Regions from separate parts of the Homo sapiens genome. Here all the other regions are linked to region 6. Evidence: promoter capture Hi-C in 16 types of primary human blood cells and fetal thymus (Javierre and others, 2016). All regions are on one chromosome and are shown on one strand. The core of a region is centred on a gene start or on the middle of the fragment in contact, and the rest is flanking DNA. Distances in the headings are between cores, read along the strand shown.

Region 1 (3,768 bases), core at 539-3,038, 1.0 Mb before region 6:
TGCCAATAACATCTGTTACCAATAGGTTTTAGGAAGCTTGCAAGCTCAATACTTCAAAGTCATTTTCACACTTTTGGTGAAAAAGTACAAAATTTTGTTGCAAAACATTCAGACCAGCAAAAGTAAACACACAGGGGAAAGGAACAATCACCAGAACTTGTAATATTGTTGTGAGGAGTTGTTTAGCAGTGGCTGAAGGCTGGGTTCCTGCCAGAGCTACTGATCTACACTCAAACGCCCTTAGATAAATAATTACACTCTTAAGCTGTGTCGAGTGCTGATACACTTGACCTTGTAAATAGAAATGTTTGCAGTAGGAATAAACTCCGGCATTGGAAAATCTTTTAAACATTAACACAAAAGAGAGCGCTCTGTCCTCTAGGGATTTGAGCCTGAACCTCGCCAAGCTAGGCACTTGCAAGGGGGAAAAAAAGTTTATTTATCTTCTATTCCTGGTGTTTGTTTAAAGCTTTTCATTTTAAACGCGGTGATTGGAAGGCAAGTCGGGAGTTTAAAAGTCACCACAAATAAACTTTGTCTGAGGGGTCGACAGATTAGCAAGATCTGGTGTCTCTTTATTTGATATTAACATGTGCTGAAAAAACATAACCAGATTTCTCTGCTGCCTAAAGTAATTAACGAAGCTATGCCCCCATTCTGACTTCCTCATACCCACTCCCACCCCCCTACTTTTCAAGGTTTCTTGTGCTTCTAACTCGCTCTTTTCCCAGCTTTTATGGAGGTATTCAAGACACTTCTTGGTGCACCTAAAACCACGATTTCTATATGTATAGTATTAGAAAGTCTAAGATAGCTGTAGTGTCAGACTTAAGCCCAGGAGAGTGGTGTGTGGTTGGAATCTCCAGTCACCTGAATGGTTGAGTAAACATATTGTTAAAACAAAGCTGAGAGCGTTGTTTCTTTGGGAAGCGAACAAAGAGTATTCCCAGAGACTTGTAAATGAAATCAGCTTTCTTTACAAAACGACAAGTTAGCAGTGCTCCTGCGTTTGTCCTTAAATATATTTAAATCATCTCCATCTCATGTTATTTTAACACATGCTTGACTAAAAGTTAAGTCTTTGTCCCAGTAAAAGGCCCAGTTTTCCCCAGTAAGAAGTAAAAGGCATTAGCACTAGAAAAGGCCTGATAATTAACTGCTACAATAAACTCACAACTTGATTTTACAGGGTCCTGTCAAAAGCATCTGCCTGGAATAAATCAACACAACTCGCTCTTGGGGAGAGAGGACACGAGGCTTTATGTTTTCTTCCTTAAAGAAAGTGAACATTGATTGGTGGTCCATTTTAATTTAAACAATTATACACTGGAGCCCAGGAGTCCTCTGGTACCCCTACAGACCTAGCGGAGGTTGTTGAGATGTTAGAACCCTTTGGCTAGTGGTTATGAGATTGCATATTGCCATCTGCTTCTAAGCAGAAAGGATTTTTACAGATGTTGACATCTGTAATATCTCACGCTCTCTGGGGAGCCTTTTGGAATTTTGGACATTTGGCCATCTCAAATGTCCCATGGAGAATGGCTGGAAGTCCCATTAATGAAAGAAAAGGTATCTCTGGCTTTTCCTGGGGATTCTCAAAAAGCATCACCCTTCTAACAGAACTCTGCCAGAGTGAGAGGAACTCCTTCTAGATTTCATGTAAAATCATGAGTCCTCACGGCCTTTCCCATTTCCCCAGTTAGCAGGTTTGAATTCTCAGTGACAGTTTATTTGTCTTTGGAGGCACTTCAGTGACAAATGTTTAAGGGAGTGTGGGACAATGGTCGAGAACAAGGAGGCAGTTCATTGAACTGACAGTGACCATACAGTAAATAGAAGGAGGTTCAGGCTTCACTGCTCACCCGAGCACACAGCAACGCTTTTGTATATAATCACAATGGACATAACATAAGGTCCCTGTTTATTTTAAACAATATATAGCTATGTACGTGAGCAATACACGTATGTAAAGTGGAAACGTGTCTGTAGGGAAATAAGTTCTTCTACTAAGTAGCAGGACTTCTCTGTACTTGGACAGCAACGCTTCAAATGTCTAGAAGGATGGACACAGCTCCTGGCCCTGACTGCCACAAATTTAAGGGACCACCAGGCTCTAACACATCTAGGGTGCACCGCCATTCTCCAGATGGGGTCCCTGTGAGTGAAGACAGAATCTTTCCATCTCTCTGCCTTGAAGAGTCAGGAGAACCCTCATGGGAGTGAGCTTTCTCTGTTCCTTGCCACCATCTGTATTGACACCCTCACCCCATCCCAGCAATGTTACAGAGAATCAAATAAAAATAGATCCCCAAAATACAATGAGGACTTTCAGAAACCTCAAACATTGTATTAAAATTTTGTCTACTTTTAAACTTTGGCTTTGCATTGTTAGCTTGTTGAGTTCATTGTGGAGGCTCTCTAACAAAATAACCTCATGTATCTCTTTTCAACCCATAAAAAGAAAAGCCTGCGTTATTTGTGTTTTGACCTCTTACACCAAGGGACATCAGAACTCTTGCCAATTGACCCTGTTTCTCCCAGCTACTCAAAGCAAGGTTGTGGGAGGGCATCAGGTTGCAAATGCCTTGTGGCCAATGTAGTTAAGGAGGGTTGAGTTTCCAGTGGGTCTCGTTGCCTTGTGAGTGAAGTAAAGTTGGACTTTACTGTAGTCTATTTGAGAGATTGCCTCTGGAAGACAGTGGAAAAGGTTCACCCTTGACTATCTGAATGACATAAGTCATGTGCTATTAGCATAAATACCTTCCTTCTAAGCATCAATTTAATCAATTTCTTAAATAACAGAATGATCTACTACAAAATAGTGGACTGTATACACTATATTTTGGCACAAAGATGGTCATTCTCCCACTAGTAACCAGGGGCTCTAAATAAATGATTTCAACAATGTTTTATTAAAGGACGACAAGAGCCCTCGAGCTGCATTAATCGGGGAGAAGTCGAGTGGCACTTTTGTTATGGAAATGTTAAGCACATAATAGCACAGCCAAACAATGTGCAGCCACTTCATTCTTTCAGCCATGCTGACACCTCTTAAAGAGGAACTGCAGGGAAGGATGTGGGAAAGATTTGCTTTCCGAGGAAGCTTTCAGCTAATATTTTGGAGGGCTACCTTCAAACCCTGTGTAATATGCATGCAAGAGAATCCCGAAGGGCTGCTGAGATGCAGAAAGTGTTTTCTCCACTTATTTCAGGAGCATGGGTTCCATAATAAAATCAAATGTCTATGGTTTTTGATACGGTATTCACCAAAACAATACTTTACTGATTTTGTTGTTCTAAGAGTTCAATTTTATAAAGTTGATCAAAGACAGCTACTCTCAATGGTGCTGGTATATACTATAATTATCTATAGCATGTTCTCCTTAAGCACACAGATAGCATCTACACAATGTTGTCAAGGACATCTTCAATCTGTAATAAAAAATAAAATGCTATTATAGACAACTTTATGTTCTCTGGTTATCAGTATGTGTCCTTACAAGTTTATCTTTTATTTAAATTTTAGAAGTGCTATAGGATATTTACGGGTTCTTGGATACCAGAATGGGGTTAATACCACAACTAAATCTGATTGTATATTTTATCCCTGATTAGATGTTACTAAGCATCAAAATGAGGAACAATTTCAGTGAGATTTGAGGTCTTTGTCATAGACATTTCTTTTAGGAAAAATGCCAGCCTTTGGGTTTTAATCCATGTCACTTCTTACCTGCCAGTTAGTTTCACTGATGTGGAGCATCCTTCTGT
Region 2 (3,592 bases), core at 16-2,515, 1.6 Mb after region 6:
TTCCCAAAAGGCCTGTGCCTGTAAGACCTGGTGCAGGTGCAATGGTTATGCATATCTATGGATTACCTGGACAGGCTCTCATCTGGACTGTTCCTCAAAGAAGGGAGCACCAATTGCTGTTTTCATGGAGCTAGTACTCCAGTGGGAAAGGTTAAACAGGAGCACAAAGTCAGTGATATGGGTTATAAGAGAGAAATGATCTCACCTCCAAGAAAGGATTTCACAGCTAGAGCACACTTCATACATGAGAGTGGATTTTGTAACCAACGATAGAAATGAATGTTAGGGTTTTTTTTTTCTAATCTCATTTTATTGTACCTCTAAACGTTTTCTATGAATAAGGAACTTATTTCTCATATGGCTGAGGATGGAAATGACTTCATTCAACAGTAGTTGCAAATAAGACGTTTGCTATTTATGAAGGAAGTTCGGATTGGCATTTAAAGTATTGCGTGTATGTGGAATATCTAAGGATTTCTTATTTTATTTTAAAATATTTTTTAAACCTTAAAACAGTCAGCAAACTGGCTCTTGATTTTGTGCAAGATGTTCCCATCAGTTCAGGAAAAATAACTGCCTGAAAGGACAAAGTACACACACACACGTGTGCAAACACTCACACCCACATACGCATACACACACGCGCGCGCACACACACAGGCTAGCATCCCCAGGCCTCAAGGTTCTAAGCAGGGCATCTCAAACCCAGCAGAGTATCATACCAACAACACCCACACCTAAAAACAGTGACTGGGTTATTTCTATTTATTCAGTAGAATCATCAACTGCCCCCTAGATATGGCCGCCTCTAAGAAGGGATACCAACTCAAGAAAGAATAATATGCTCTTCTTGCCCTCAAGGAGAAGGACAGGCAGAAATAAGCATGCAATTACAATATAATTGATGTTAAGGAAAATGGCGGAGGTTTGCACCAAGTGCATTGTATTCTTATATTTATTATTTTTTATATTTTGTCTTGCTATCTTACCAGGGCTGGTCTGAAACCCTGGCCTCAAGCAATCCTCCTGCTTTGGCCTTCCAAAGTGCTGGGATTACAGTCATGAGCCACAACACCCAGCCAGCACCAAGTGCATTGTAAATAATATATAGCTGGAGCTGAGCTGACTGAGGAGTCTGTGACAGCATCACCAAAGGAGGGAGAATTTGATTAGGGCTTTAAGGATGGTCAGGTCACAGTAGGAGGTGGGGTGGGCAGAGCACTGCAAGCAGAGAGAACTATCTGTACAGACTCAGAACCCTAAAGGAGAAGAGCACATGAGCCTGGGATGGAGGAAGGGAACACGGTATAGGGAAAGGGGGCAGGCTGGCATCAGGTCAGGTGGCCTCTGCGTGTGCTAAGGCATTTTAGAAGGAATCGCTCAGAATTTACGCAGTCAAATTGTGATTTTTTTTTTGAGACAGGGTCTCACTCTGTCACCCATGCTGGAGTGCTATGGTATGATCTCAGCTCACTGCAGCCTCAACCTCCCAGGCTCAAGCAATCCTCCCACCTCAGCCTCCTGAGTAGCTAGGACTACAGACATGCGCCACCACACTTGGCTAGTCTTTGTTTTGTTTTGTGTTTTAGAGATGAAGTCTCACCCTGTCGCCCAGACTGGAGTGCAGTGGCATGATCTTGGCTCACTGCAACCTCCACCTCCTGGGTTCAAGCAATTCTCCTGTCTCAGCCTCCTGAGTAGCTGAGTTTACAGGCATATGCCACCACACCTGGCTACTTTTTTTGTATTTTTAGTAGAGACAGGGTTTCACAACGTTGGTCAGGCTGGTCTCAAACTCCTGACCTCAAATGATCCGCCTGCCTCAGCCTCCCAAAGTGCTGGGATTACAGGCGTGAGCCACCGTGCCCGACCTAATTCTTGTATTTTTTTGTAGAAATCGGGTTTCACCATGTTGCCCAGGCTGATCTCAAACTCCTGAGCTCAAGTGATCTGCCTGCTTCAGCCTTCCAAAGTGCTGGGATTACAGGTGTGAGCCAACTGCACCAGGCTGATTTTTTTTTTTTTAATATTACTTTGGTGGCCCCATTGAAAGTGCTTGGAAAAGGAGAGGGATTTGTGTGTGGCTGGGACATCCGTTGGGAAGTTACTGTCATAATCCAAACCAGGCTAAAGGCAGTGGATGCAGACACTGGGACGGAGGTACTAATACTGATGAGGTGACCCCTCCACAATGAAATTCAGGAGTAAAGATGAGGGCCTAAATGCTGCTCTGGCTCTGAAGATTTCTGTTTTCTCCTCTGTAAAAGAGCATAATAATGGTACCTATCTTGGGATTGTTGAAATAATTAAATAAGCTAATATTATATATGTATAATGGACATTTTATACACACACACACACACACACACACACACACACGTATATACATACTTGTGAAAACAGTGCCTGGCACATAGTATGAACATAACAATAGCAGCTTTTGATGCTGAGCAGCTTAAGGAAAGTGTGGAGTCAATGTTTCCAGCTTGGGATGTCAACTTGGAAGTGATTCCCTTTGTTTATTTATTGCTGTTGTTTTAAATAGAGACAGGGCTTCACTCTGTCACCCACGCTGAAGTGCAGTGGCACAATCATAGCTTATTGCAGCCTCAAACTCCTGAGCCCAGGCAATCCTTTGACCTCAGCCTCCTGAGTAGCTGGGACTACAGGCACGTGCTACCACAACTGGCTAAGTTTTTTTATTTTTTATATTTGTAGAGACAGGGTCTTGCTATGTTGCCCAGGCTGGCCTCTAGTGATCCTCCCATCTCTTCCTGGGTTTCCCAAAGTGCTGAGATTACAGGTGTGAGCCACCTCACCCAGCCTCGGGCAAGGCTTTATTTAGGTAGAAAATCTAGGAATAAAGTTAGAGCAAAAAAGAGAGTGAGTTCTCTTTGAGGCCTGTTGGTTGAAATTAAGTTGACTCCAGGCATCTTCATGAAGGGGTAGATGAAGTAGGAAGCTTGTAGCATACGTTCACCTGGAGCTCAGAAGAGGACACACATTTGGGAGCTGTTAGCATAGATATGAGCGCGGATAAGACCACTGTGAGGGAAGCCTGGGAAACAGTAGCGCTTAAGGAGTGGGGAAGTTAGAGATGTCAGAGAATGAAGCAGAGGGCCACAGGGAGAGAAAGAGCAGCAGAACCAGGAGAGGGGCGATCTGGAGAAGTCAAGGGAAAGTAGAACCACAAGTCAACAGAAAAGACTCCGAAAGGACAGAGGAGTCTATAGAGTGAGGCCACGGGTTCACTTGACTTGCCAGCTAGGAGGTTACTGGTGACGCTAGGGTTGGGGAAGGAGGAGAAGTTTGTGTTATGAGCGGGAGTTAGGCTAGGAAAAATGGTAGCAGAATGAACGCTCTTCTGGTGCAGTGGTGGTGCTAGGGAGGGGCGGGGAAGGGGAAGACCTAGGGCAGGCAAAGGCAGTTGTGGGGAGGTGTTTTTATGTTAAAAAAAAAAAAATTCGTTGTGAAATACAACATACAGAAAAATACATAAAAACAAATATACAACTTATAAGGCGAACTGTCACTCAGGTCAAGAAACAGGATATTGCCATCCCTCAGGGTCCAGCCCTACACATTTCATCAC
Region 3 (3,282 bases), core at 221-2,720, 1.6 Mb after region 6:
CAGCATTGAAAGGTAACAGTGAGCCCCAGGCTGCCCACTGGGTCTCTTGCCACAGGTACTGCTGCTCCTTACCTGGCCTCTAAACCCACACAGGCAGGCAGGTAAAACAAGAACATCTCTGGGGAATGGTCTAGCTAGTGCCCATTAACTCACACTAAGGATTATGCACACCCGAGACTTGAGCCAGAAAGTTACATGAACCAAGTGAGTCAAGACCAATAGATAACGATCAAGGACTTCTAAAATACAGTCTTTGAAAATGCAATCATTCCTAGGCAAAATCCATGCAGTCGAAGAATAACATTTAGAGAAAGGGCCTTAAAACATTTGACATTGGTAGATGGTAAGAGTAAAAAAAGAGTTGAAGTGGGGTATGATCCCAAACAATTTTGAGAGATCAGATTCACCAAACAGATGTTGATTTTGATAAGTCTAATTTCAAATACAGAGGACAACACGACTGTAAATGCCCCAGAACAAGCGAGAAGCAAACTAAACCATGAAATTAACTTAATAGTCAATGAGCACTTACTATGTGTGCCACTGGATGGAGCCACCCAACTTTGTTAGGTAGGTACTGCCTCCATTCCCACAAGAAGCAAGACCACTGAATGAGTGCAAGACCACTCATGCAATTTGCTCTGGCAACCAGGCCAGAGCAAATTCTATAGTGAAGAAAGGCTCTCCTAGCACAGTGGTGGTACCTCTGCAGCAGAAAAACCCCCACCACAAGAACTGAGAAATGGAAGCCAGGCTGTGTGATTACAGCACAGTGCCAGGGAGAGGCTGAAGAATGTCAAACCAGCCATGATGACAAGACATGTCCACAGAGGCAGGAGTCCCCACCCATGTTACTCAAAGGATATATTCCACTTAAAACCAGCGTACAGGGCAGGAAGACCACTATTGTGGCTTGAGAAATGACCACAGAGCCTAGGTGTAGCTAAAAGTGGCCACAAGCTTCTCTGGAACTTTCAACACTTCTATAATTTATACCTTTGTCTTTTAATATCTGGAGTTCAAATCAGGCTTTCTAAGTTCTAATTTCCAAACGGAATTTAATTCCTAGGCACACTACTGTGTCTTTTGATCTTCACCAGGCCCAAAGAATCACTCCTCTATAGGCACAAGATGGTCTGGGGAGGGACAGTCTGGGCTGAGATTCTACCCCAGCCATTTCTGGCTACACAACCCAAGTCAAGTGATTTACTTATCTTTGCCTCAGTTTCCTCATCTGTGAAAATGTGGATCATGGTACCCACCTCATAGGCCTCTTGGAGTTGTTGTTGTTGTTGTTGTTGTTGTTGTTTTGAGACGGAGTCTTGCTCTGTCGCCCGGGCTGGAGTGCACTGGTACGATCTTGGCTCATTGCAACCTCCACTTCCCTGGTTCAAGCGATTCTTCTGCCTCAGCCTCCCAAGTAGCTGGGACTACAGGTGCCCGCCACCACGCCCAGCTAACTTTTGTATTTTTAGTAGAGACGAGGTGTTACCATATTGGCCAGGCTGGTCTCGAACACCTGACCTCATCATCCGCCCGCCTTGGCCTCCCAATGTGCTGGGATTACAGGCATAAGCCACCACGCCCAGACAAGAGTTTTACACAGTGTCTCCTGCCTACTAAATACTGTATCATTTGGTGCAAAATAAAAGCAAAAACCAAAAGTAACAAGAGAAAAGTTAGTTTCATCCCAATAAAGTTGAGGTGGATGGTACAGAGCCGGGGTGAGCCTCCTGCTCAAGGCTTCCAGGGACCCAAGTTCCTCCCAACTCAGCACCCTGACATCACAAGGATGTGGGCCTTGTATCCATGGTCCAGTTGGAACCATCCTCACACTGGGCAGCAAGACAGAGGAAATGACAAAAAGGAACAAGTGCACCTGCCAGCCATCCCTGGCGGAACATTCCCCGAGCTGCCCCCAACAGGGCACCCTTTCTACTTTCATTTCGTTGCCAGAACTTAGTTGCAAGGGAAGCTTGGATATGTAATCTTTTTCCTAGGTGACCATGTGTCAGCTAACATTCTTTGAAAAGGGATACCACAAATAGGGGAGTCATTTTAGAAATTTCCAGTGTTCTAGAAGTTATTATATGGTTTAGAAAGTGAATGAAAGGAAGAAAATAAAAATGCCTCTGTCCATCTCTGCCTCCCTCTAATAGCCACATAGAAAGTGCAAGATCAAAGAAATGGTGGGAAACAAACCCCAGGCACAATGTACTCCTGGTTACTAGGCTGTCCCTTCAAAGGGGGCTCAATCAGGACCCTCATCTTTTAGCACACCTAACAACTAAAACTAACTAGAGAAATTAAATGTGTAAGCTGTAAACGGCCTAGACATACTCACAATGCAATTCCCTCACCTTTCTTACACATTCAACAGAGGGATAGATTTTACCATGAGAACGCAGTCGTGGTTGTAGGGCGTTAAGTGTGCAAAGGTATTTAGTAATGTGAGTTGCTAAATAAATGGAAAGAAACATTGAGCTAAGACATTATCTGGGGCCCCATATCACAGCCCCACGACTCTAATTTAAAAAGAAGAAGAAAGACAGTTGTCTTAATGGTCATTTTCCAGGTACCAGTCAATATCCACAATAACCCCACTAATTCTGTTGGAAATCCTCAAGTGGGAGATATTGTTCTTCCAGAAAATACTAAAAGGCCAAGGCGTATACTCTGTTGGGGGCCAAATAAGACTATTACACAGTGGAGAACAAAACCACACGTGCTCTTGTTGCCACTTAAAGGAGTGCCCACTCTATCCCTCAACACACACACCTTCCACTTTCATTAACTTTAAAAACGTAGGATCCACCCGTGTTCCACCAGTAGTTTTCAGATCCTGCCACCAGGTGGCAGGAGGAATCAACGTCAAGAAGCTGAATCTCCTAATAGAATTAGAAAATGTCAGGATTCCGTAAGGATCCGCAAGAACCCCAAATCCAAACTGTGTTGTATGAATGAGGGAGTTAAGGCTTGAGAGAATGTGGCCTGCTCAGTAGGGACCCTAAGGACTAGCCCCTCAGTGACCTGTGTTCTGTTACTCCACCAATTCATGTTTGGTTTTATTTTTAACTTAGTATTAAGGAACATTTTAGCATCCACCAAAGTAGGAGAATAATAAAATGATTCTCCGGGTACCTGTCAGCCAACTTCAGCAATTAGCAACATTCTGTCATCTTCCCATACTATGTATATTTTTTCTTTTCATGCTGTTTGTTTGTTTGTTTTTTGAGACTGAGTCTCGCTCTGTCGCCCAGGCTGGAGTGCAGAGTGGTGTGA
Region 4 (3,704 bases), core at 965-3,464, 2.0 Mb after region 6:
GGTGTGGTGGTTGTAGAGACAGGGTTTCGCCGTGTTTTGTAGAGATGGAGTTTCATCGTTTTCCAGGCTGGTCTTGAACTTCTGGCTTCAAACAATCCTCTGGCTTTGGCCTCCCAAATTGATGGGATTACAAGTGTAAGCCACCACACTTAGCTAGAATTTTTTAGTTAAATTATAACCCACTAATGCTTGGTTAAATTTGTCTTTTCTATGTATAAATATAATTGGCTATTTTATTTTCATATTTGGACTTACATATCAACTTTGAGCATTTCCAAAATTGGTAAATATGATCATTTTCTAGCTGTTGATCAATTAATGTCTTCATAAAATAAGTTAATCATATTATCTGAAAGGAAACAGTTAAAAATGAATGTTGTGGTTCTCTTCAGACCTGAGCTTATGGATGATTATTCTTTGTATGTTGCTGTATTTTTTTTTAATTATTATTATTTTTGACAGAGCCTTGCTCTGTTGCCCAGGCTGGAGTGCAGTGGTGCGATCTCGGCTCACTGCAACCTCTGCCACTCAAGTTCAAGCAATTCTTCTACCTCAGCCTCCTGAGTAGCTGAGACTACAGGCGATCGCCACCACACCCAGCTAATTTTTGTATTTTTAGTACAGACGGGGTATTACCATATGGGCCAGGCTGGTCTCGAACTCCTGACCTCGTGATCCTCCTGTCTCAGTCTCCCAAAGTGCTGGGATTACAGGCGTGAGCCACCATGCCTGGCCTATACTTGGCTGTATATTATACAATTAATGTGAATTATATTGCAATCAGAAAAACAGACGTGTTTTAATTTAAGAAACTTTCAAAAGGAATGCTATCTACACATTTAAAATAATAAGCCCTTGGGCCAGGCACGGTGGCTTACACCTGTAATCTCGGCACTTTGGGAGGCCGAAGCGGGCAGATCACAAGGTCAGGAGATCGAGACCATCCCGGCTAACACAGTGAAACCCCGTCTCTTCTAAAAAAATTCAAAAAATTAGCCGGGCGTGGTGACGGCGCCCGTAGTCCCAGCTACTCGGGAGGCTGAGGCAGGAGAATGGCGTGAACCCAGGAGGCGGAGCTTGCAGTGAGCCGAGATTGCACCACTGCACTCCAGCCTGGGCGACAGAGCAAGACTCCGTCTCAAAAAATAATAATAATAATAAGCCCTAGGATTATATTGCAGAAATCTGTATATGAAGTAATGCCATTGAAAAAGAATAGTAAGTAGTATCAAGATTACATAAATTGTATTTTATGTGCCTTGAAAAATGGGAAGCGAGTTTGGAGTGATAGAAAATTTAATGTTCATTAAATCCTTTTGTTTCTTGTAAAAGATCTATGAATTTTTTTTTTTTTTTTTTGAGACAGGGTCTCCCTCTGTAACCCAGGCTGGAGTGCAGTGGTGTGATCACAGTTCACTGCAGGCTTGACCTCCCAGGCTCATGCGATTCTCCCACCTCACCTCCTGAGTATCTGGGACCATAGATGTGTGCCACCACGCCCAGCTAATTTTTTTTTTTTGTAGAGTTGGAGTTATGCCATGTTTCACAGGCTGGTCTTGAACTCCTGGGCTCAAGCAATCTGCCCACCTCAGCCTCCCAAAGTGCTGGGATTACAGGCGGGAGCCATGGTGCCCGGCCAATCTATAAATTCTTACCAACAAAGTAAGATTATTCTGCCTTTTAAAAAATGTTTCAACTGCACCTTTAAAAAATAGCATATATAAAGCTTTCAGATACTCAAATAACGTTTATATTCTCTTCATTCATCAGGGGAAAAGAGTTTCTTTTTACAAACGAGCCCAAATCCTTGTAGCAGATACGTGGAGTGTATTGGAAGGAAAAGGAGATGGCTGCTTCAAGGACATCTCCAGTATCACCATGTTTGCTGATTATAGATTACCTCAGGTTCTTGCTCATCTTGGAGCCCTGAAATACTCTGATGACCTACTGAAGAAGCTTCTCAAAGGTTTGCAACTTTAAGTCATTCTTTGTTATACTATGAATTGTTGGATCTCGGTTTAGTTTCTTTTACAAAAGGTCTCCTTTGCTTTAAAAAAAAAGTACTATTTATTGTTCATAGTATATGTAAAAAGGAAAATGCAAAGACAAAATGTAGAGAAAATGATTTTTCTTTTTGTTTACACTGTGAAATGTGGATATTGTAGAAAATTGTGCTATTTGAACATTATAATTTCATAGCCTAATGAAACCTAAATTTATGTTACATGAAAGTATGTAACACTGATAGTTCATCAGTTATAGTATTTGAAGAGTGTTAAGCTGAAGAGCACACTACATGGTTATATGAAGGTAGGTTGAAAGATAGGTAATATGAATTGGCTTTTGAGTGAAGAGACTCCAAGGTCTGCACTGGGATATCTTGCACAAGTCACTCACTTCCTTAGGCTTATTCGCCATTATTGGATATGATTATTGATATCAAGACTAGGAGCCTTATGATATATAAGCTTAGGTAAATTGGGTTGAAAAGTTTGTGTGAAAATTAGCTTATAACATTTCCTTGTATGAGGAAAATAATTATATGATTTTCATGTTAATTTCTCTTTTAGGTGCAAAATTTTCTGCTACTTTTTTCTTTATTTTATTTTATTTAAAAAATATGTTGCCCAGGTTGGTCTTGAATTCCTGGGCTTAAGCAGTCTTCTCACTTCAGCCTTCCAAAGTGCTGGGATTACAGGCGTGAGCCACTGCACCTGGCCTCTTTATGTTTGTTTGTTTGAGACGGAGTCTCACTCTGTTGCCCAGGCTAGAGTGCAGTGGTGCGATATTGGCTCACTGCAAGCTCCGCCTCCCAGGTTCAGGCCATTCTCCTGCCTCAGCCTCCCGAGTAGCTGGGACTACAGGCGCCCGCCACCACACCTAGCTAATTTTTTGTATTTTTAGCAGAAACGGGGTTTCACCGTGTTAGCCAGGATGGTCTCGATCTCCTGACCTTGTGATCCACCCACCTCGGCCTCCCAAAGTGCTGGGATTACAGGTGTGAGCCACCACCCCGGCCTTATGTATTTTTTTAAAAGAAGTAGATTCTATGATTGAATAATTTCCTCTTGTGAAATAGATTTGAATCCCCCAGATCAGAATAACACAGAATATAAAGGTACCATTATTCCTATGGTTGGCTCTACTGGGTTTTTATGCTGCCATGGGCAATCTGTTTTGTCTTCCATTTCCTCATTTGAAAAAGAACATGCTATTTTTTGTCATCATGCCCATGTCAAGGGTCACTAATTGTTGGATACCTTTAAAAGGGACAACATTTAGCAATCAGGGCTTATTTTTCATATGGCCATATTAAGCTGCTTTTTTTTTGTTTTGTACACACTGTTCATTCCTGTCTCTGAGTATTCTCTTACGTGGTTTCCATCGTCCAGTGTTCTTTCTTTTTTTTTTTTTTTTTTTTTTTTTTTGAGACGCTCTGTTGCCCAAGCTGGAGTGTGGTGGCGTGATCTCGGCTCACCAGAACCTCCGCCTCCCAGGTTCAAGCCATTCTCCTGCCTCGGCCTCCTGAGTAGTTGGGATTACAGGCGCATGCCACGATGCCTGGCTAATTTTTGTATTTTGAGTAGAGACGGGGTTTCACCACACTGGTCATGCTGGTCTTGAACTCCTGACCTCATGATCCACCCTCCTCAGCCTCCCAAAGTGCTGGGATTACAGGCGTGAGCCACCACGCCCAGCTTCTT
Region 5 (3,553 bases), core at 182-2,681, 1.7 Mb after region 6:
GGGAGCTTTTAAATTCTCTAATGCCCAGGTCCATATCTCAGAGTAATTAAACTACAGTTCCTTGGGATGAGACCCAGCCATCAATATTTTTTAAAACTCTCAGATTCTAATGTACAGCCAAGTTTGAGAGTTGGCAGTCTGTAGTATAAGGCTAGAGAATGTTATAACTGGTGCGTGCACCCCGACCCATAGAGCTTACAAGCCACACATAGACACAGTCCCCAATATTGAAACTGAGTAACACAGCCCAGTCACTGTGTGACTCAGGAGACTAGGATTTCTTACAAAATAAGTGGGCTTCATTGTAGGTCTTCATCCAGGCCTCGGAGTGCCAATTAGTAGGAAGAGGCAAGAAGAAAGGAGCAAAGGACACCTGTGGAGCAGCTTGAGTGGATCATCTGGGGAATGCCATCCCCACTGTAGAAATGCTGCCTCAAAAATGTTCTGGGGGGAACAGGAACAGGGAGGGAGGTGTTGATCCTGGAATTCTGAAAATATGTGGAAGAGAATCCAGAAACCATGTGAGGGCAGGTAGGAAGGGGAACGAGTGGACCTGCAATAAAGAAAACAGAAGTCGTGTACAGATTAAAGGGCCACCAGATCAATGAAGATTGTGTAAAGGCACCAAGGACCTCAGGAGAGCAAAAGGAAGATGGAGAGAGGAGAATATACACATCTGCACATGAATCATGAGTCCCTTCTCCACTCCCCATCCCCTCCCCATCCCCTATCTAAAATGATGTAATGAGGCTGGGCATGGTGGCTCATGCCTGTAATCCCAGCACTTTGAGGGACCAAGGCAGGCAGATCACCTGAGGTTGGGAGTTCAAGACCAGCCTGGCCAACATGGTTGAAACCCCATCTCTACTAAAAGATACAAAAATTAGCTAGGTGTGGTGGTGGGCTCCTGTAATCCCAGCTACTCAAGAAGCTGAAGCAGGAGAATCGCTTGACCAGGGAGGCGGAGGTTGCAGGGAGCCAAGATCGCACCACTGCACTCCTGGGTGACGGAGCAAGACTCCATCTCAAAAAAAAAAAAGTTGTAATGACATACATGCTTTAGGGGCTCTCTGAACATTCAAAAGGGCAACAGAGAGGTAGAGGAATCTTCCTTGAAAGTTTCCACAACACAGGATTAATTCTTTTCTGAAACGATCAGATTTTGGTTTTATGCTTCTCCCCAGGGATGTGGTCAATTAGCACAAATGTCTCCCTTATCCCTCAGCCTCTCAAGGTGATGCCCGCGACTTGGCTCAATGAGCTAGAGTGGCTCTTCCAGACCTCCAAAGAAACATTGTCTTCTGGAATAGAAACAACCCCTGCCCTGTTTCTTCCCTTGCGGAGCTCTTGGACCCTTCCTCTGAACACAAGAAAAAAGCTAATCCCAGGTTTGCCTTCTTTCTTCTGAAATTGCAGGTTCCATCCTCCCACTTGTTAACAGCGTCAGTTATGTCAGCACCTGCGTCATTGGCTGCTGCTAAACTCTTTTGGCCTGAGACAGAAAAACCTAAAATAACCCTCAAGAATGCCATGAAAATGGAAAGTGGGTAAGTGTGACACATTCACCTAATTAATGACTACCCAAGCCGGGGCGGGGGACTCCAGGAGTCAATGTACAGCAAAAATTTGATAACCGGAAAGCACAGTGAATTACAATATTAAAGTTAGTCCAAAGACTATTTAGACTTCACAGAAAAAAGTCTTATTTTATTTCCTTTTTTTGAGTCTTGCTCAAAAAAGACTTTTTTAAAGTTGCTCTGTCACTCAAGCTGGAGTGCAGTGGTATGAACACAGCTCACTGCAGCCTCAACATCCCAGGCTCAAGTTATCCTCCCACCTCAGCCTCTTAAGTAGCTGATACTACAGGCATGCACCACCACTCTCAGCTAATTTTTTTTAGAAACAGGGTCTCACTATGTTGCCCAGGCTGATCTCCAGCTCCTGGGCTCAAGGGCTCCTCCTGCCTCAGCCTCCCAAAGTGCTGGGACCTGGCCAAAATCTTGTTTAATACTTGACATAAACCTCTCTAAATACCTAATGTCAATACATTTCCATATCTGTTTGTTGTAAAGATATTTCTTTATAAATATAGCAGAGTGTTTATGGAGCCTTGGTTTAGACAGAAAGCCATAGGATGACCATTTCTGGAGGTTCCTCCTATAAGAAAGCTGGTTCCTTTTCTTTTGCTCTGTGAAAAAGAAAAAAAAACAGAGTGGAAAAGACTAAGGGATTTAGGGTGTTCAAGAGTATTTCATTAAATAACAGAATTCATCAGCAACCAACATGTGTCTGAAATTCACCCATACTTGTATGTAGATAAAGTCAACCATGAGCGAAAAAGCAAGTTACCAAAGAATACAGCGTAATTCCACTTGTAAAGTTACTCAGTGTGCAGACTTGCACAATGTTGTTTTTTTGTTTGTTTGTTTGTTTGTTTTGACAGGGTCTCACTCTGTCACCCAGGCTGAGCTCAAGTGATCCTCCCACCTCAGCCCCTTGAGTAGCTAGGACTACAGGCACGCAGCACCACACCCAGCTAATTTTTGTACTTTTTGTAGCGACAGTATTTCACCATGTTGTCCAGACTGGTCTCAAACTCCTGGGCTCAAGCAATCTACCTGCCTCGGCTTCCCAAAGTGCTGGGATTATAGGGTGTGAGCCACTGCACCCGGACACACAATGTATTTTTTAGGGAATACAGACATGTAGGAAAACTGTATAGAAAGGGGATGATGAGTGAATTTCAGGAAGACAGATACCTCTGAGATTAGAGGGGAGGATGAGATCAAAGAAGAGTACACAGGGGGATTCAAAGTGATGGTGGCACTCCATTTTTAAATGAGGTGATGGATTTACAGGCTTCCTTGGATCATTGGTTTGTTGTTGGTTTTGAATCATTAGCTTTTATACCATTTGTATTTTATAACTATTCTCTGGCAGCTACTTGTAATAAAAATAATTTTTAAACTTGTAATTTTTTATCATTTTCCAATTTTTTATTATAAATGTCCCCAAATTTAAAAAGTAATGTAAGTTACCCAGAGACTCTGGAGGCTAAGATAAGAGGATCGCTTAAGCCCAGAAGTTCAAGACCAGCCTGTGCCATGTAGCATGACCCCGTCTCTTAAAAAAAAAAAAAAAAAAAAAAAGCCAAGCATGGTGGCACACATGCTATTCAGGAGGCTGAGGAAGGAGGATCACTTGGGCCCAGGAGTTGGAGGCTCCAATAAGCTATGATCACACCACTTTACTCCAGCCTGAGACACAGAACAAGACCCTATCTCTTTAAAAACAAGAACAAACATGGTTAAATACTCATATGCCCACTTCATGATGTCATGGGATTCAGGTGAGTATTTTGAGCAAGGCAGGGGCCTTAGAGTTTGTCTCTTATCTAAGCTCTGATTATGCTACTTCTGCACCAATGGTGTCCATCCCCTGACAACTCCTTGGTAATTCTGGAATTGCTATTTCTTGATAAAGTGATTCAGGGAATCTTCTAGAAGCTGCAACACAGGGAGCATCCTCCTCCATCTCCCTGGTGGCCAACATC
Region 6 (3,364 bases), core at 582-3,081:
AGAAAATAAAAAGTGATTCAACTGAGGTGGAATTGCAGAGGAGAGAATGAGTGGTTGTTTTGAGGTCCTCACCAGGGAGGTTAACACTTAAGAAGAATTGTGTGAAAGCGAGGGGCAAAGCAATTTAAAAGAAAGAAAACAAAAAATGCAAACACCTGGGAGAACCACCTTGGTGTGTATTACGAAGAGATAAAAAAGACCTGTGACTGGAATGTAATAAGCCTGGCGGGGACAGTGGCACATAAATGAAACCTGAGTGGCAGGCAGGGACCAGATTTTATAGACCCATAGGGAAGGAGGGTGGATTTTATTCTACCTGCAACAGGAAGCCACTGGACAATCTTAAACAAGGAATGATGTGATCTGATCATACTGAAACCTCAAACATACAAAAATACTATTATCTTTTAGATTAACAAAGTGTTTTCCACAGTTAGAAATTACTGCTCTCTCTAACCTGTTAAAGCAAGAAAAATTCAATTTTAAAATACTGCCTCAACATCTGTATTTAATGCTGTATCAAATATACATTTGCTTTAAAGTTAAAATTAGAGGATACAGAATAAGTGTGGCTAACAAACTCAACAAACCACATTTACCTGTTGATTTCATCTAATGAGGTAAGTTTAGAAAGCACAATCGTCATTCTACCCCTTCCAGATGCTGAACTTCTAATCCAAAAATCAGACTCACCTCGACAAGCTTCTTCAAAATCTTGGGTAATGTCCACCCAGTTTGTATTGCTTTTCTCCATTTTTTCTGGCATACTGAGCTCCCATCCTGAATCGTCATCATCTACAGAAGCTTTCATAACCATTATGCCTGTAAAATTAATACTGATGTAAGAGAGAGGATGTAGCTTTCAGGGCAAGAGTATTTGCAGAAATGGGTGTTTGTTTCAGCATAGGATGAAGTCTTAACTAAACTCTTTAAAGCAGAACTCTTCTGAGTCTAAGGACAGTACTGCAAAGAATAACCTTAATGCAATCAAATCGCACGTCAATTAACACTCCTGCTGCTTACTATTAGCCCACCACCTACCAGGGCCCATAAACATTTTGCCTTCCTACTGTTTAAGAAGAAAAATCACAAACCATCTCACCTCTGGCCCGAAAAGAACAACTCCAGAGCTTCCAACTTTCAATAATAGCCACAAAAGACCAAGGCACTATTCAGGGTCCCCTCTCGCAGCCCAGGACCCCATGCGGCAGCTACCGAAGTCAATCAAGGTAGCCCTTCATCTGGCCAGAGCTCGCTGGGACCTCTCCCGGGCCAGAGCCGGCCCGGACCCAGGCAGAACCTCGCCGGGAGCAATGAGGAGCCGGCAGGCACCGCAGGGTCCCGCCGGCCGGGCCTAGGGCCGAGGCACACCTGAGGCGGGCACACGCTTCCCTTCCGCCCTGCCCGGGTCAGCCCAGCCCAGCCCCGGTCCCACTGGGCGCATAAGCAAGGACAGAGCTGTCGCCGCGCGGGAGGGCGGGCACGTCCGGCGCCGGGTCGTCGCCTCGGCAACACCGGGCAAGAGTGGGGCCTCGGCCGACAGCGGGCACTGGGGAGCCCGCCGCTCCTACCTGACGCGCAGCGGGAGGGCCGGGGCCGCAGGGTGACCTGGGGTCCCCAGGATCTGCCACACGCGCGGGGGGCTGCGGCTCTCGGACACACGAGCGAGAGGGTTTCAATGGCTACGCAGGGGCGGTCCCTACCTACTTCTCCCGTGGTCACCCGCGCCGCCACGCACTGTCCGGACCACGGAAATAACGACGCCGCCTCGGCCGCCGCCGCCCCCTCCCCTCTCAGCCCAGCCCGACCGGCAGCGTGCACGCATGCGTATGCCCGGGACGCGCGACCCCGCCCCCTCTCCCTTACTCCCGGGGACTTCGCGCTCCCCGGCCACACCCCCTCCCTCGCCACCGCCTCCGTTCGGCCGATGGCGGCCGCCTTCTCTTCTCGCGAGATTAGAGACGATCGCGAGACCGGAAGTTATCTTTTTTCACCCTCTGTCGGAGTCCTGGGTAGTGGGCGGTTCCCGGAAAGAGGCGGAGCCCGGAGTCTCAGAGCCCGCCCCGTCTGCGCTGCCCTCTGGGAATTTCTTAGAAAGGTGACGCGAAGGCGGAAGGAAACCGTGGAGGTTTGCGTAGACCTTAGTGGTTGCGAGCACGAACGAGCAGCCAAGCTCCGAGAGCAACAGCGTGCTACTGCTGCCTGACAACGGATTTATGTTTCCTATACAGCGCCTGGGAGTTTCGTGAGGAAACATAGATTCAAAATATCTGCAAAGTCAAGCCAGACATTTAATTTCAGATTCTTATATGTTTTAGATTTTTTTAATTTATTAATAAAATGATCAGTTTTTAAATGGGGTTACATAAATAGACGGGCGCAGGTAAGAAGCACATCTTTATCACCACCTGTTCTTTAGGATGGCCCAAAATTAAAAGATGGAAAAGATAATACCAAATGTTGGCAAGGATGCAGAGCAACTGGACCTCTGTTATGTTGGTGGTGGTAATGCAAAATGGTACAACCACTTTGGAAAACTTAACAATCTCTCCTTATAATCATATACTTATCATTCGATCCAGTAATCTACGAATTTACTTAGGAACAAAAACATATTCATACAAAGGCTTGTACGTTAATGTTCATACCAGCTTTGTTTTGCTTTGTTTTTGTTTTTGTTTGAGACAGAGTGTCACTCTTGTCGCCCCTGCTAGAGTGCAGTGACCTGATCTCGGCTCATTGCAACCTCTGCCTTTCAGGTTCAAGCAATTCTCGTGCCTCAGTCTCCCGAGTAGCTGGGATTACAGGCGCCTGCCCCCACACCAGGCTGTTTTTTGTATTTTTAGTAGAGATGGGGTTTCACCATGTTGGTCAGGCTGATCTCAAACTCCTGACCTCGTGATCTGCCCACCTCAGCCTCCCAGAGTGCTGGGATTACAGGTATGAGCCACCGTGCCTGGCCCAGCTTTGTTTTTAATCATCAAAAACTACAGACAACCCAAATGTCCATCAACTGTTGAATAAAAACAATTTGTGGCATATCCATACAATGTAATGAATGTAATTATCAATAAACAGGGATAAACTACTTGACATACAACATGAATGAATTTCAAAAATATATTGAGTAAAAGAAATCAGGCTGAGCTTGGTAGCTGGTAGCTCATGCGTGTAATCCCAACACTTTGGGAGGCTGGCAGTGGAGAGGTCGGGTTGGAGACTAGCCTGACCAATATGGTGAAATCCTGTCTCTACTAAAAATACAAAAAAATTAGCCAGGCATGGTGGCGTGCGCCTGTAATCCCAGCCACTTGGGAGGCTGAGACAGGGGAATCCCTTGAACTCAGGAGGCAGAGGTTGCTGT
Region 7 (3,725 bases), core at 366-2,865, 1.6 Mb before region 6:
TAACTCCAATTGCAATTATAATCTTAGTGTTTGTCCTGTTGTCACAGAAGGGCAAGGGCTGACAAGAGTTAGCACGGACAATTAAATCTGATTTTGTCCAGGGGACTGGATCAATATACTGTGCATCATAATCTAGCCCTGAACTGCTGCCTCTCCTCCACCCCCAGGCCCTTGGATCAGGCGGTTTACCGCTGGGTTAGTAACTCTTTTCTCTATGATTTGCGCATCTCCAGAAAGGGCGAGGGAGACGCCTGATTCAAACTGCATTTGTTTACCACCCAATGGCCCCATCGTTATGCATTTCCACAATCCAGGAGGGTACGCTTCTGGTACCCCCTTTACCTGCCAAGTTCCTCGCCGGTGTCGTAGTAATCATCCACGTTTTCCTGCCTGAACACGGTCATGATAAACTGTCACGCCTCACCAAAGCCCAGGGCACTTCAGCTCCGCTTCCCAGACCATCACCACCGCTCCTGCGCCTCCGTAGCCCCCTCATGCATCAGTCTCCAGTCCTTTTGAAGAAAAAAAAAAGGCAATAATAATAGTAAAATGGCAACCCCAAAAGGAAGTAGACCTCCCCGGCGCTAAGACCCCGCTCGCTGAAGACCGGGTCTCCGGAGCTGCCCCTCCTCGCGGGGTGGAGAGGAGCACCCTTTGTTAAAGCTGGGCGGCCAGGGACGCCCCCGACCCCTCAGCCCCGCGCGCGCGTGGGGCCGGGCACCACGGCACCCCGAGGTCGGCGTCCCCAAACGCTGGGCGGTCTGTTGGGATCAGAACCGGCTCCGGAAGTGACTGGCCTCCCCGCCTCCCCTTTCTCTGCACACATGCCCACCCAGCTTTCCCACCTCCAGGGACGCCGCGGAAGAATGAAGCCCTCGCCCAGACGGTACGCGCCTCACTGGGAGCAATCTCTCTCCAGCCTGCGGCAACGGTGGCACCCCCGCGCCACCTCTCGGCTCCCGCGCCTCTCCTAACACCGTGGCCACCCTCTCCCCTTCCCCGAGCGAGGCAGTCCCCAGAGCCACATTCCTGGCGACTCCCTCTCCGTTACCCGGCCGACCCGGCGTGCGGCCGCCCGGGGGAGCAAGGGAGGGAAGGGAGCGGCCCACCGAGGCGCAGCAGTTCGCTCCAGATCCTCGCGCCCCGACACAAAGCGCCTGGTCGGGCCGGCGCCACCTGTTCTCACCCGGCCCGCGGGGCTGGGGAAGCCTCCCGGCTGCGATCGCACTTCTCCCCGAAGCCAAGTTTCCCTCCGCCTTGGCCTTCCCAGTTGCTCGAGGCACTGCCCGGACAAACCCCACCGCGCCCTGGCTGGGAAAGCAAAAGCTGGCGCCGGGGGTCGGGGGGACCGGGGAGCCGCGCCTGGCTACTCACCCGGGCGCCTGGGAGCTCCCCCGGTCCCTCCGGAGCGCTGTCGGAGGCCGACCATAGGCGCCAGCGCCGGAGACTAGCCGGGGCGGCGGCGGGAACACAGCTAGGGAGTGAGTGGGGGGCGCAGATCCCTCCCAGGCGCCGGCCCCAGACCCTGCCGCTGCGAGTTGCCGAGTCCCCTCCGCGGAGGGAACAAAGTCCCCGGCGTTGGCTCGGTCCGGCTGTCCTCCTCACACTCCGAAGCAGCCTCTCGGCTCCTTGCCGCCTTTTGGGCGGAGGGCGGCCGGCAGGCGGCCAATGGGGACCCTGCAAGCGGGCTGGCGGCGCGGCCCACCCACCTCCGAGCTGCCCTGCCAGGCCGGCGCTGCGGGTTCTGCGCGGCGCTCGCTGCTCCTCCCAGCTCCGCGCTCCGGGCTCGCTGGCGCGCTCTACCGCGCACACCCCGCACACACCCACTCGCCCCACACCCACGCCGGCCGGGGAGCCAGTGCGTCCGCCCGGAACGCGGGCGCCCCACCTGTGACACATTGCTAAGCTGCCCTCTGACTGGGTTCTAGGGAAACACGGTTCTTCCGTCCCGAGATGTGTACTGGGATCCCAGCTTGTGCCGGGCACGGTGCTTGGTATGGGAAAATCACATAGAACAAAACAGATTTTTTTAAATCCCTGCCTTCCGGAAACCTGCATTCTGGTGGGACAGATAGATAATAAATATGTAAGCTAATTAATAAGGTAATTTTGGAGGATCAGTCCTACGTTTACCACGAAACAGGTTAATGGAATAGAGAATGGCAGGAAGGGAGCGTACCTCATTAGACTGGGTTCCTCTGCCGGACTGGTGTTGGAGCCGAGGCTTGAAGGCAAGAAGGTTTGCAATCTGAAGAAAGGGTTGAGGTCTCCGAGACCCAAAGAAGCAACAGAGACGCAGAGTTTATTTGCGCTATCCCATATGCTATTGGCTATTGTTGAGCTGAAATGTAGCTAGTCCCAAATTAATTGTGCTGTAAGTGTAAAATACACATTAGAGTCCAAGACAGTATGGATATGAGAATGAAAAATATCTCATGAATATTTTTATATTCATTACACTTTCAAATGATAGTATTTTGGATACGTTGGGTTAAACAAAATATATTATTAAAATTAATTTCACCTGTTTACTTTCTTTTTTTTGAGACGGAGTCTCACTCTGTCGCCAGGCTGGAGTGTAGTGGAGCGTGGCAACCTCCACCTCCAGGGTTCAAGTGATTCTCCTGCCTCGGCCTCCCCAGTAGCTAGGACTACAGTCGCGCGTCACCATGCCCAGCTAATTTTTGTATTTTTAGTAGAGACGGGGTTTCACCGTGTCGACCAGGATGGTCTCCATCTCTTGACCTCGTGATCCGCCCGCCTGGGCCTCCCAAAGTGCTGGGATTACAGGCGTGAGCCACCGCGCCCGGCCTCACCTGTTTACTTTTTAAAAGGTGGCCACTAGAAAATATAACAGTACCTATGTTGCTTGCATGAGATTTCTGAGGACTGTGCTGGTCTACACAAAGATCCCATATCCACTGGAGACCTCTATCCACTTTCTCTACTTCCCACCCCTTGCTCCCACCTAATGTTTGGGTGGAGACGAAGAAGGGTTGATTCCCCACATCCCACTGCTGGAGAACCCCAAACGGTGAAAAGCTCCTAAAGGGAAATCTATTTTACTGCCTAGAATGATGAAAACTGACAGATGAAGAGATTTCCGATCCATACCGTTGTTCAAATCCCCAGGCTTTCTAAACTGAGTTGGTTCAAATCTCTGTGGTTCAACAGAAATTTTCAACTGTGAAGATTTTGGCCTCTTGAAAACAAGGCAAAACAAAACAAAAGAATACCCCTCAGGCCTTATGTCAAATCCTAGTCTTTTTTTTTTTTTTGAGACGGGTTTTCGCTCTTGTGGCCCAGACTGGAGTGCAGTTGTGAAATCTTGGCTCACTGCAAACTCCGCCTCCGCCTCCCGGGTTCAAGCGATTCTCCTGCCTCAGGCTACCCAGTAGCTGGGATTACAGGCATGTGACTATGCCCGGCTAATTTTGTATTTTTAGTAGAGACGTGGTTTCACCATGTTGGTCAGGCTGGTCTTGAACTCCTGACCTCAGGTGATCCTCCCGGCTCGGCCTCCCACAGTGCTGGGATTACAGGCGTGAGCCACTGCGCCCAGCCAAATCCTAGTCTTAAATAACATTGCATTAATGACCCACAGGAAGGGCACACAGGAATCAAGGGGAAGTCCCCAAATTGGGAGATGGTATTAGCTTAAGCAGTGGGCTTGATAATACAAAAGGGTCTTGAGAGGTGAGAAATACAGTCAAAAATAACAACAA

What was found. Contacts are between HindIII fragments. The CHiCAGO score rates a contact against its expected background, and 5 or more counts as called.
Region 1: a fragment that was not itself captured here is called in contact with the fragment with the promoter of NAA35 in region 6 in 1 of 17 cell types (non-activated CD4 T cells); the score reaches 5.3 in non-activated CD4 T cells.
Region 2: a contact is called between a fragment that was not itself captured here and the fragment with the promoter of NAA35 in region 6, in 1 of 17 cell types (M0 macrophages). The highest score is 5.2, in M0 macrophages.
Region 3: a fragment that was not itself captured here is called in contact with the fragment with the promoter of NAA35 in region 6 in 1 of 17 cell types (total B cells); the score reaches 7.3 in total B cells.
Region 4: a contact is called between a fragment that was not itself captured here and the fragment with the promoter of NAA35 in region 6, in 5 of 17 cell types (naive B cells, naive CD8 T cells, total B cells and 2 more). The highest score is 7.1, in naive B cells.
Region 5: a contact is called between a fragment that was not itself captured here and the fragment with the promoter of NAA35 in region 6, in 2 of 17 cell types (total B cells and non-activated CD4 T cells). The highest score is 6.0, in total B cells.
Region 7: a contact is called between the fragment with the promoter of DAPK1 here and the fragment with the promoter of NAA35 in region 6, in 2 of 17 cell types (fetal thymus and monocytes). The highest score is 6.0, in fetal thymus.

The regions. Positions count from the first base shown.
Region 1 is chr9:86,940,203-86,943,970 of GRCh38, reverse strand. No RefSeq gene overlaps it. Among named protein-coding and RNA genes, the nearest start is that of GAS1, 5.4 kb to the left of the region's middle. RefSeq lists an enhancer at 2,550-3,250. The HindIII fragment of the contact is 2,634 bases long and covers 472-3,105 here.
Region 2 is chr9:84,334,500-84,338,091 of GRCh38, reverse strand. All of the region lies in intron 1 of SLC28A3 (solute carrier family 28 member 3), which reads left to right. Among named protein-coding and RNA genes, the nearest start is that of SLC28A3, 4.5 kb to the left of the region's middle. The HindIII fragment of the contact is 3,398 bases long and covers 1-2,964 here.
Region 3 is chr9:84,315,030-84,318,311 of GRCh38, reverse strand. The region is part of intron 1 of SLC28A3 (solute carrier family 28 member 3); the gene reads left to right. Among named protein-coding and RNA genes, the nearest start is that of SLC28A3, 24 kb to the left of the region's middle. The HindIII fragment of the contact is 1,015 bases long and covers 963-1,977 here.
Region 4 is chr9:83,943,056-83,946,759 of GRCh38, reverse strand. QNG1 (Q-nucleotide N-glycosylase 1) reads left to right here. Exons shown (of 4, transcript NM_032307.5): 3 at 1,771-1,966. Among named protein-coding and RNA genes, the nearest start is that of QNG1, 12 kb to the left of the region's middle. The HindIII fragment of the contact is 512 bases long and covers 1,959-2,470 here.
Region 5 is chr9:84,286,042-84,289,594 of GRCh38, reverse strand. It overlaps SLC28A3 (solute carrier family 28 member 3), which reads left to right. Exons shown (of 18, transcript NM_001199633.2): 12 at 1,417-1,547; 13 at 3,484-3,553. All of the region lies in intron 1 of SLC28A3-AS1 (SLC28A3 regulatory antisense RNA 1), which reads right to left. Among named protein-coding and RNA genes, the nearest start is that of SLC28A3-AS1, 9.6 kb to the right of the region's middle. The HindIII fragment of the contact is 4,681 bases long and covers 1-3,553 here.
Region 6 is chr9:85,939,613-85,942,976 of GRCh38, reverse strand. It overlaps NAA35 (N-alpha-acetyltransferase 35, NatC auxiliary subunit), which reads right to left and starts at 1,831. Exons shown (of 23, transcript NM_024635.4): 1 at 1,704-1,831; 2 at 694-822. The coding sequence starts at 817. RefSeq lists a silencer at 1,248-1,927. The HindIII fragment of the contact is 5,629 bases long and covers 807-3,364 here.
Region 7 is chr9:87,495,757-87,499,481 of GRCh38, reverse strand. DAPK1 (death associated protein kinase 1) reads right to left here and starts at 1,615. Exons shown (of 26, transcript NM_004938.4): 1 at 1,375-1,615; 2 at 343-512. The coding sequence starts at 404. RefSeq lists silencers at 657-766, 977-1,166, 1,537-1,886, 1,907-1,966 and an enhancer at 509-1,266. The HindIII fragment of the contact is 10,886 bases long and covers 1-3,725 here.